2 separate regions of the Homo sapiens genome follow, and region 1 is linked to region 2. The links are contacts of gene promoters, found by promoter capture Hi-C in blood cells and fetal thymus (Javierre and others, 2016). All regions are on one chromosome and are shown on one strand. The core of a region is centred on a gene start or on the middle of the fragment in contact, and the rest is flanking DNA. Distances in the headings are between cores, read along the strand shown. Region 1 has its middle 120 kb from the start of CDH19. Region 2 holds the start of CDH19 (cadherin 19).

Region 1 (6,294 bases), core at 1,587-4,086, 120 kb after region 2:
CCTTGATTTATTTCAACAGGGAAAAAGAAGCAAACAAATGGAATGGTTCATCTTGATACCATTAAATCTCTTACTCTAACTGTACCCGGAAACCATGGTTTTCCACTTGTTAGAATGGAATAACGGCCCTGCCTATCTACGGCCAAGCTCTCCAGTTCTGCAGTGAATCAAAACAGTTCTCATTTTTCTAAAACATTATTCAAGAAATAAACCACAATTGTTTCCTTTATCATTTGTCAGAACGTTCTGACATTGACTTCCATGTTGCCACATTTAGTGGGCAATTTCCTGTCTTCATTCTATTTGATATCAGCAAAATTTGAGGGAGATAGAATGGCCCAATTGTTTAGATGTATACGTGTTGGTTTTTTCACCTTCTTCTCTAGCCAATCCTGCCTAGAATCCTTGCTAGATTCTCTTCTACAGAAAATTTACCTCTACATATAAATATCAGATGTAAATAACAGTATATTTCTCCAAGGGTCAACAATTTTTTAATAACATAAATCAGTTAAAAGGAGCAGCAGCAAGTCGTCTGAACTTTCAACAAAAATTAAACACAAATGAAAATAGTACTATTTTATGTGGGTCTCAATATCCTTTTTTTTTTTTTCCTTTTGATACAGAGTCTTGTTCTGTCACCCAGGCTGACTGCAACCTCCCCCTCCCAGGTTCAAGGGATCCTCCTGCCTCAGCCTCTTGAGTAGCTGGGATTACAGGAGTCCAACACCATGTCAAGCTAATTTTTTGTGTGCTGTTAGTGGAGACGGGGGTTTCACCATGTTGGCCAGGCTGGTCTCGAACTCCTGAGCTCAAGTGATCCATCCACTTCAGCCTTCCAAAATGCTGGGATGGTAAGCATGAACCACTGCACCTGGCTTCAATCCTTTTAAAATATCATTTTTTTTTAATTCAGCAAATATTCAGACATACCAAAGAATAGAGACACTAAAGGGGGAATATGTCTGACCTGTCTTTTATCTTACGCTGAGCAGAAAAGTCTCAGGGCCTGCAGAAATTTCATTCAGGACAGAATGAATGTTTCCTCCACTAAGTTAGGTTGAAAGTAAAGTTTGAGACAAATAAATGTGTGTGATTATTATAGTCTACAAGCTATGCTTGTTCAATATGAACAACTGCATTCATTGGCTTTGGAGGGCTGATCTTTCAGTCTGTCCAAGATGTGAAATATTAGCATGCAGAAAGGGCCCTTTCTGATTTAAATCTGAGAAAGAAAGACTGTCTCCTCTAAGAAATCTTTTGCTATTTTAGCTACATCAACGGTAACTGAAGTTGATGCTTTAGATGGCATGTAGGTTGCATTTGCTTCAGTCTTTGGGATAGGAAGGGTTCTAGTCTGAAAGGAAAGTGTAAGTGGGAGAAAACTGAGAGCCATGTTCTGAGAGCACTTACACTTGTAATCGTGGGTTTCTGGAAAAGTGGAACTCTAACAGGGATTGGGAAGTAGGTTAGTAGTAGAGAGGGGTCCAGAAAGCTTCCTTAGACTCTGGGAGAATCTTTTACTACATCAAAACTGCAAAATTAAATGGACGTAGAAAGCCATTATATCTCTGCTATATACTTTAAAAAGCTCCACAACTAATTAGAAAAAGTTGGCTATGGTTGGTTATTAAAGAATAACTCTAGTTATTTTTTTACATTCTATTCACTATTTTCTTCTCAGTCTCAGGTTATACTGTCAATTGCTTATCAGAATCTTTATGAAGAAGGCATCTTTGCAAAATCATTTTATTCTGAGACTTTATTTTAAAAATATGACAATACAAATATCATCCTTTAAAAGTCTTCCCTCTAGCCTCCAAAAGCATTACCCATATGAGGTATACAAAGTCTTGTACAACACATTATAATGTCACTACAATTCTTCCTATTTATTCCCAAATGAGGAACATTAGCAATGACATTAAGAACCAGATGAGAAAGAAATCAAACTTCAGAAGACAGAGAACAGAGCATACGCTCATATCTCTTGTGGATGAAGCTATGTTTATATCAATGATAGTGAATTTCAGAATGTACTGTCCTGAATTTTGCAAGCTGAACAAAGACATATTGTAAAACAAGATCACGCTTTGTGGTAGAATTGTGAACTGCTAGGAATCAATAAGAGGAGAAAGTTCATGTTGCCACACCCCAGTCAGAAATGAAGTGGAAATACAAGAAACCATGCCAAAGGTAGGCGGCTTTGCAAACAAACCACAAGTACTGACTCCATGAGCAGCTTAGTCCCTAAGCGCAGATATTTGCCTTTTTGAACAGCTGTTTATTGTAGAACTTGACTGTTCTACAATCAAATTTTTCTCAAGGAAACACAGAGTTATTACAGATCTTGAATATATTGTTCAGAAGTCACAGTGAAAATGTAAAATCAAGAGTACTCTCTGAAATACCACTAAGACAGAGTGATTTCTGATACATTCATTCCCAAAACAGTTCAAGTCTCTTGTCTATCTGATATATGACAGGCATAGGCTTTGCTATAAAAACTGCAAGGACAAATGAAACTAGCTCTTGCGGTCAGATTGCCTACTTTCTAAATGAAAGAAACTCAGGTCAATTCACATTTTAATATGTTTTTGTAAAAGGCATAAATGGTATATGCACAGGGCTTTTTATGAGGAACATAGAAGAGAGAATTAACCATGTCTAACTGGTAGGAAGCACTGAAAGTCACCTCTAGTACAATATTTCTCCACACAAACAGGTTTAATAAAAGTGTATGTTTTAAGGCATAATAAGAAACTGTAGCATTGTGGTTGGGCATAATGGCTCACGCCTATAATCCCAGCACTTTGGGAAACTGAGGTGGGAGAATTGCTTGTGTCTAGGAGTTTGACACCAGCCTGGGCAACATAGAAAGACCCAATCTCTACAAATAATCATAATAATAACTGTTCTAGGCATGTGGCACATGCTTGTAGTCTCAGCTATTTGGGAGGCTGAGGCAGGAGGCTTGCTTGAGCCCAGGGGTTTGAGGCTGCAGTGAGCCGTGATCATGCCACTGCACTCAGCCTGGACCACAGAGTGAGACACTGTCTCTAAATAAATAAATAAATAAATGAATAAACAAACAAATAAAACTTAAACATTGCTTTGCTACTTATAAGATAAATGGGGTAGCTGAGGCCCTCCTCCAGGGTGGGATCATGCCAGCTGGTGCACTGGAAGGCTCATAGTGCTTGTTCACATATCTGATTCCCAGAGCTCTGTGACAGATCCTGAGCCATTTTCTCTGGGTGGGTAGAGGAGAGTTGGTTAAACCCTTCCAGCCAGCTTACCAAAGCAAAGGTGCCAGATAAATACATACTATGCTAGTTTAGTTTAATTAATTTATCTTACCATAGCATTTTATTTATGTATTTATTTTAGGATGGTGGTTTATAGGAGAAACCTAATAACATAAAGGCACTTGTGACTCAGGAGAGAGGGCCCCACAGGTTGTTGGAAATATTACCTGAGCAGTGCAGGAGTATCTTGTGAGTAGCCTGTGCTGTAGGGTCTGCAGCCAGAAAGAGAAATAGGAAAATCTAAGGGAAAGTAGAACACTGTGTCAAATGCTTATAAGATCTCCAAAGCAAGGACATGATGGTGGAGAGGAGGGTGGCATTGAAACACTCCCAGAACATGTACTATATGATTCTACTACATTTTAAAATTCACTCATCAACTTATGCCTTTGCCTTTTCTTTCCTACTAGATGTGAGTCCCTGGAAGGCAGGGCCCTGCTCTAATCTAGCTGTCTTTTCACAGCAAAAGCAGGCAATGGAGGAATCAGAGAAGGCAAATGAAGGGCAAAGGCTCCCATGCCTTGATGAGGACAATAGATTGGTCACAGTTTGACTGATGCCTGGCCACTGCAGGTAAATGAATCAAATGCATACACAGCACACGGATTATAGCTACACACATAGCTCACAGGTTATCTGTGGCTGATCAAACTAGTGTGCAAAACTCATGGAACGCACCCAAAATCCTGAATCATACATTCACAAAATTGGGGAAAAGCTGCAAGATGAAACTTAAAGAAGTTTATTTTGGATTACAGTATATATTTCTGATATGCTCAGTTGGTATAAACCATTATAAACAGAATGGCAGAAAATAATAGGGTGACACTTGCAAATAAATGAAATGCATGATCTTGAAATCGAATAGACTAAGCTTTAACATGCATTGTCTTGCAGGCCCTGTGACCTCAACTCATTTAACCAAAGCCTCACTCATTTCATCTAACAACTAGAGATGGTAATTTCACTTAGCACAAACTCTCCCACAAGTTAAGATTTGATAAATCTTGACCATTATGTTTTTTTCAGTGAGTTGTATATGAAAATATTTCACTGTGTGCTTTTAAAATAATATTTATTTTTGTTTGTAATTGACAGATGATAATTGTACATATTATTGGTGGACTATGTTATGTTTCAATACATGGATACATTGTGCAATGATCAAATCAGGGTAATTAACATATCCATCACTTCGAACACTTTTTTTTTTTTTTATGAGACACAGTTTCACTCTACCTTCTGGGCTGGAGAGCAGGGTGCAATCTTGGCTCACTGCAACCTCTGCCTCCCGGATTCAAGTGATTCTCATGCCTCAGCCTCCTAAGTAGCTGGGAATACAGTCGAGCACCACCACGCCAGGCTAATTTTTGTATTTTTAGTAGAGACGGGATTTCACCATTTTGGCCAGGCTGGTCTCGAACTCCTGACCTCAAGTGATCTGCCCGTCTTGGCATCCCAAAGTACTGGGATTACAGGCATGAGCCACCGCGCCTTTCCGCCTGTCATTATATTTTTTGTGATTAGAACATTTAAAGTCCTCTCTTCTACTTACTTTGAAATATGCAATATACATTATTATTAACTATATGCTTTTAAGAATGAAAACACAAGTTATGCTCCTTAGCTTACAAAACAATTTTGAAAAGTAAGGAATATTCATGAGAAAATTAATCTAGGAGACATCAAAAATATATATTGTCTATGTATGTATGTGTGTCTTTGTGTGTATGTGTTTTACTCTATGTATATTAGAAATAAAAAGAATTTTTTTGTATATGCAGCCATAAGAATAAAACTATCACTGCAAAATGCAGGAAGTGTAAAGAAGAAAATAAAAATTAAATCTATCCTTGAAAAATGTGCAGCAAACTTTACAGACTCCCGAGATACCGTGGTGCCTAAGAGACCAAGAATCCTCCAATTTTTCTGTCCAGATTGGGATAACTTGAAAATAATGCCAAAGCATATTCAGAATTAGTTGTAGAAGGGGCCCGGATATTCCCTAGTATAGAAGTCAAGACTATATTGAAAGGCATTTAATTGGTGGTAGCTGAGAGTTCACCTCTATCAGAATATTCAAAGCAAATGATGATTTCTGGCCCCTACTTAAGAGCAGAAATCAAATATAGAAAGAATGAAGATACTTTGGCATAATGGGAGCTGGTTAATGCAACAGGATGTGACAGTGGTTCCTGACTTGCACAATCTTTAGATACACCACTTGCACTTGCTGAGCTTGTGATGAAACACCTTCTGTGTTTTTATCATATTCAATTTTATTTTCCTGTATCAAGTGTTTTTCACACCTGTTTTCTTGAAGGATTTGAATACCATTTCACAGAGAAAAACTAATGACCATGAAGTTGATGTTGACATTTTTACAAATGTATTAGTATTTCAAAACACAACATTATAATAAATATTATATTCAAAATATGTCCAGATTACATATACTATAAACATTTGCTACATTCAAGAAATCAAAGTGTAGCTGATGCACATGAAAAATAAAATTTCATGTTCATTTTTAGAAAACTTTTAGAAATTGATATTTATTTTAATATTTCTAGTCGTACAATAAAATTATTTATAAGATTTGTCTCTCAATCCAATCATCAGTCTGTGTGATTTCTGAGCAAAATCTCATATTGGAAAATGTGTGGCATTCATGTTACCTTTTTTGTAGAATTCTTCTTCTGTTTTGTGTGTTTCTAGTCCACCTTTCCAGCTTCTCCAAGGTCTCAAATTACTTCTGATTCAGCTGGACAGTATAATTTGGATTTCAATTCCATTTCCTCTTATCAACATTTAAATGAGGTAAACAAAAGAGACGTCACTGTTTATCTGACAGTTTGTAATTTAAATATCATTTATTACTTTTGGTTGGGATTTGTATTTTTTTCTAGAATATATATCAAATGTCAAATCAACGTCATTTCAATCCATAGAATTATTTTAAAACTTTATACATGTTTTCACTGCA
Region 2 (6,302 bases), core at 456-2,955:
TCTTAATAATGCATAGGAGGCATCTGTGCACATCATTTTAAAGCATCTTCAATTTATGATAATTTAATCAAAAATTTTTTTATGTTTCTTGAGGAAATGTACCTTACAAACATTCCTAAGTGAAAAACAAAACAAAACAAAAAATATAAGTAGAAGACATATGCTTTTCGATATATGCAGATGTGTCTGTGTGTGCCTAAAATTATAAATATTTCACTGGAGCCTAAGTAAAGAATTTACTAATGTGTAAGACTGTAAAAATCAGATATTTATATAATGATATGAGCATTTCGTTCACTGTTATAAAGGCTTGGTAAAGTGGAAAACATATGTAAAGGAAAGGAGATCTGGTGGTTTCTAAATGACATAAATTGATTGTTTAAAAATTTTGAATAATTGCAGACAATAATGAAATGCTTATTCCTTTTAAAAATAAATTGTTAGTTATTTTATTTGGTCAATATAAATGTTCACATTACATTGAAATTTAAATTCTTTGAAATCAAAAATTATAGTAAGTAGGCATACTGCTGATAATTACAATATTAAGAATTTGAAAAAAGAATATATTAATGCATATAATTTTACTTAATATTGTAACTACATCTAAAACATAAATATATATTACTAAATTTTCAAATATTTTATCTAAATAATGTCTTTCTTACAGATATATTAATTCAACAAATGAATTAATAGAGCTAAAATATAAATTGACATAATCTAAAGAAAACCTTTGCCACTCTATTTAGGTATTTTTTGTTGCTAAATATTTTATGTTTTTATATTTAATAGATTTATTAAATCCCTTTGGTAAACTTATTTTGAAATATTTTATTATAATTAGTTATTCAATTAAAATTGCATGTACCAAATTAGAATTGAAACAATATAAAATGTCTTTTACAGTATGCATTTTCCTAATTTATACTTTTCTTAATTTATACTTTCATATTTGAGAAATTACCTTTTGTGTTATGTATAAATGTTATAATACATATAGGTAAATTAATATGCCTGTACAATTTTAGGCATATATGTGTTTTTATTCATAGCAATGCTAATATTTTAATTTTTTTGGAATTATAATATACTTAAAATTTTTCATATTTATTCTGTATATATTTTTTCTCATATACTTAATGATGACAACTCTATTGTTCATATTACCTGATATACATGGTAAATACATGATAAATAAAAAATAAAACCCTGAACAAAGAAAAAAGTGCAAAGAAAGACATGCAAAGAAAGGTTGATTCATTTATTCTAAGAAACTTGAGAAGTTTTAAATATCCTAACATAGGTGTAACTTCCCCCCAACACCAACAATCTGTATTACAGAGATGGAGAACTGTTCTCACAAATACGTGTTTTGAGAAAGTTCAGTACAAGTACACATCATGGTTTTAAAATTTTTAGAATATTTTCCTTATTTCCTATGTAAATATTTTCCTTAATATTTTTAGAATATTTTCCTAGCAACATTTTGTCATGTACTTTTTGACCTATTGACTCATTAAAGATGATGCATGTAGTTTATAATATGCCTGATTATCACAGTCTTACCTTTGTAACTTCAACTTCTAGAAGTTCTGTGAAAACTGAACAGCAAACTTCGTGTTGGACACATAAGGAAGAGTAGGAAAAACTTTCTTCTTTTTGCTTCACAGTCTTCTCAGCAAACTCTCGATGTGCCCCATTGCCCAGAGTTACAGACGCTTGTGCTTTTAGTACCACAACACTGTCAGTATGTCACTGCTTACTCAATGCTATTTTGGGTTCTCTGAGTAGAGTCATAAACACTGAGCCTTTTGTGCAAAATATCATAAGGGCACTCTGACGCTCGTTCATAGTCTGGAATTAAAATGCAGACAGCTACGCAAGTAGTATGAGCTGATTATCTTTGTTTTTTTTTTTTTTCCCCTAACAACAAGCAAAAACAAAATAAAGTACTTATTGGCCTGAGTTGATAAAGGGAGAATTCAACTTACATACAAGAATTTTGCAAGTAGAGCGGACGTGCCCTCTGTTTGGGGATTAGCTGATGAAACAAATGATCAATTTAAAGCAGACCCAAAACTTACTGAAAAGAGAAATGATTTTCCACTGTGTGTCTATGCCTCATGGCTGTTTCTTAATTCGGTCATTTCTCCTCAGAAATCAAGTAAAGACATAATGAGAGAGAAATGTCTAAACTTTAATAAGTCCTTTTCTTTTCCTTGGTTTATTATTATGTAAAATCTTTTATTTTATTCATGGTTATAATTAGATTTTGATATAAGCTATTATTATTTAACATAAAATACATATGTATTTTCTATGCTGTTTACTCAAGCTGTTATTTACTTAAAAACCATTTTTGAACCAAACTAGAGAAACATTAAAATATTAAAAGTTTCTTAAATTATACCTATATAATAAGAAAGTCTATGTGGGGCAGGATTATTCAAGCATCCTGTTAATTCTGATAGATATTTTGGTCACTATCCTCTTAGCTTTTGAGGAAAGAAATGGCAAAAGCTATATGGGCAGTAAAGTAGGACACTCAAGCACACACATATACACACATGCACATGTGCACACATGCATACACATACATGTGCACACACATACATATGCACACACACGCACAAATGCACATCCTATGAGGTTGTGAATATTAGGAGGAATCAATAATTTATGAACAAATCTTGAAGAGATGAACCTGGGAGAATAGATCTGTGGATAGCAGGAACAGTATAATGTGGAAATATTTTATTTTTTCAGGTAGAAAAAAGCATTCAGCTAGAAAAAAACACTTCTAAGTGTTTCAAGATGTTAGTAAATAGGGAAAAAATAAATTTTACAAAGAACCTCTGAAGTATTCTTATACATTTCCCCCTTCATATTTTTTACAGTATCAAAAAAGGTGGAGATACCTGTTTAAAATATTTATTTACATAATTCACTGTTCTGTCTATGACCTAGTCTAGGATTTCTGTAAGAATCTAACATTTTATGAGATGCCAATTTATATCTTGATGTTTATAAAATATCCAGTTGCACTTAGGATTGAAACCACAGTTTAGAGCCTCAGTGTACCTGTAAACATGATGTCCCAAAGGCTTATTTTAGAGCCTAAGGGAGCAAAGGTGGGTCACAATTTGCTGCCCTGATTATTACAGTACCAATAAAGAGCAATGGCAACTATAGAAACCACAGTGAGACAGGATTAAATTTTCTAAAGAAGGTACAGTGTGAAACTACATGTTTTATGTAGAATATCATTAACAGCAAACTGATTTTATTAAATAGATAATCTATTATCAAACACGTACAGGAACTAGTTGCTGTAAATTGCTTAAGAAATGCATGCCCTTTCTGGAAGAGGATATAAGATGAACAGCCGATAGCCAAGGATCCAGCAAGATTCATCCGCTATGCCACAACCAAGAATGAAGACTTGGAAGTACTTAGGGGACTGGTCATCAGATAAGCTTAGTGATTACTTCTTTTTTTTTTTTTTTTTTTTTGAGATGGAATCTCTCTCTGTCGCCCAGGCTGGAGTGCAGTGGCGCAATCTCGGCTCACTGCAAGCTCCACCTCCCGGGTTCACGCCATTCTCCTGCCTCAGCCTCCCGAGTAGCTGGGACTACAGGCGCCCGCCACCACGCCCTGCTAATTTTTTTGTATTTTTAGTAGAGACGGGGTTTCACCATGTTAGCCAGGATGGTCTCGATCTCCTGACTCGTGATCCGCCCGCCTTGGCCTCCCAAAGTGCTGGGATTACAGGCTTGAGCCACCGTACCCGGCCCAGCTTAATGATTACTTCTACGTCATTTTCTTTATAACAAGAGAAATATATCTGACTAATTTTTCATATATGGGGGGGTAATACATAGTAAATGGAACATGACTGTGTAAGAACAGAAGCTCAAAATTAAATACACTACTATCCATATGTAAGTCAGAGTTATCATACTCAGAGTTATCTGAGGTCCCCACAGCAGTAAACATGTGGCAGGATGGACAATTCCCGAAACACAAGTGATGTTTTATAGCTGCACAGTGACATTCTGGTCTATTTTCACATGCAGTCTGGGGGAATTTCACAGTTATCACCTGCCAGCAGGCTAAGGAACAGAGCTTGAAGTTGCAGAAGCCAGGATTGTATTGAGTTACTCTAAATAAAAATTTGAATTCAAGTATTATAATTCAGAGCCACCAATTTTTTAAACCAGATAATTAAGAAATATATATCTAATGACTAACCGCAGACAAGACTGGCTAATGAAGTTTGAATTTAACTGAACAGGCAGAAATGGAAAGTCAAACATTATGCAAGCTCTGATCTGTCCCTTGAAAATAGACATTTAACCAGAAAGTTTAAGTCTACCTACTTTATATCATAGGCTATACATGTGCCTTCAATTAGAAATTTAGGCCTTGTCCAATCAGGTGTTGTCAGGATAGCATAATCTAAGGACCACATCCTTCTCACATGGTCTGGAAGCATTTTAGTTCTTAAAAATATATTTAAGTTGTTTTGGGAAAAGCTTATAATATGTTAATACAAGAACATTTAAAACAGATATTTACTGTATGCTATCACTATATCAATGAGAAATCTATTGACTAGCAAGCAGATAGCAAAATCAAACAAAATCAAATCCAAAAATGAATAGAATAATGAAGAAATTCAATGTATACATAGAGAAATAAAGTAGGGTTAAGGGTTAGTTGATCCAGTGGCTTCCTACTGCAATCAGTTATCTAGGTTCTTGGGCTCTGTTTGGTTCTCCAACTTTTCCTCAAGGCCCTCAAAAACACTGTCACTTTCGTCTTATTCATCAAAATGATCACTTGTCCATGCATGAACAAAGAATGGCAACAAGAAAAGCTTAAAGTAATTGTCATTCCTGAACCTGAGAGAAAGAGTTAGTTGATAGAAAAACAGATTCATTTCCCCAAATTAGAGTGGAGTGGTTGAATCTAGTTGATAACCAACTAGACGTCCAGTGTTCACTTCAGATATTCATGTAAAATAGCTTTTAAAATGCTGAAAATAAAAATAATAATTTTCTCCATGGATTGCCATTAAATGGCATTCTTTTCCAACAGTCCAATTTGCTGTGTTTTCCATTCTGTTTTTAACATTGAATATATATCACAATGATAAATATGGGGAAATAAAAAAATGCACAATGATAGAACAAACAATAAACAAAATATTCACTAATCTATATACTTCTAACCATGCTAAAATACTTTGTATCAAAATTACACAAATTTTGCTCAGAGTAAAGAAATATTGTCTTGAATATGGCAACAATTTGTATGGTTTGAAGATTTATCTTTTAAATTCTAGTTACAGTAGCCACTTGTCTAATATAATAAAAAATTTTATTGTCATATATATGTCCTTATTTTCTTATTTTTGTATTCATTCTTTTTTCTTTTTCTTTTTATATTTAATTAATTAATTAATTCATTTATTTATTTGTTTGTTTGTTTTTTGAGACGGAGTCTTGCTCGGTCACCCTGGCTGGAGTGCAGTGGGGCGATCTCGGCTCACTGCAAGCTCCGCCTCTTGGGTTCAAGCCATTCTCCTGCCTCAGCCTCCCTAATAGCTGGGAGTACAGGCACCTGCCACCATGCCCGGCTAATTTTTTGTATTTTTAGTAGAGGCGGGGTTTCACCGTGTTAGCCAGGATGGTCTCGATCTCCTGACCTCGTGATCTGCCCGCCTCGGCCTCCCAAAGTTGTTTTGTTTTTATTTTCTTTTGTAAGAAGACTTTTCTCTGGAGCAGTATATTTAAGAAATATATATATGTATGTATATTTGCCAAGCCGCAACATAATCTCCATGACGGAAGAAATCCATTATAGTAATTAACAATGAATAAATGTATAAATAACAAAAAAGGCTCATTACAAGAATAATTTAGTAATTGTCAATATGCAAACAAACAACCCAAAATACTTAAATTCAGACATAAACGTGTAGAGGTATGTCAGCCTTGTTTTCTGTTTATATTACCAGAATTTATTAGAAACATCTCACCTAGGCACCAACCTCTTTGAAACGGTAGATTAACTTTTACTTTTTCTTTCACCAGGACAATATTAATATGAACATTTAATTTCTGGAAGAGTTTCCATGTTTTTATAAAATTTTGGTTACTTCTTAAATTTATAGATCATGCACATCAGCATTATAAACATTCTCTCTGGCATCATTTAGAATTGTAATATTATAAAAGATGTGAAGTTATCTGTCATCTATCATCTCTCTAATCTATCTATGTATCTATCTATAG

The links. Contacts are between HindIII fragments. The CHiCAGO score rates a contact against its expected background, and 5 or more counts as called.
Region 1: a contact is called between a fragment that was not itself captured here and the fragment with the promoter of CDH19 in region 2, in 1 of 17 cell types (M0 macrophages). The highest score is 5.8, in M0 macrophages.

Annotation. Positions count from the first base shown.
Region 1 is chr18:66,722,689-66,728,982 of GRCh38, forward strand. No RefSeq gene overlaps it. Among named protein-coding and RNA genes, the nearest start is that of CDH19, 120 kb to the left of the region's middle. The HindIII fragment of the contact is 2,687 bases long and covers 1,494-4,180 here.
Region 2 is chr18:66,602,385-66,608,686 of GRCh38, forward strand. CDH19 (cadherin 19) reads right to left here and starts at 1,706. Exons shown (of 12, transcript NM_021153.4): 1 at 1,570-1,706. The HindIII fragment of the contact is 9,771 bases long and covers 1-3,477 here.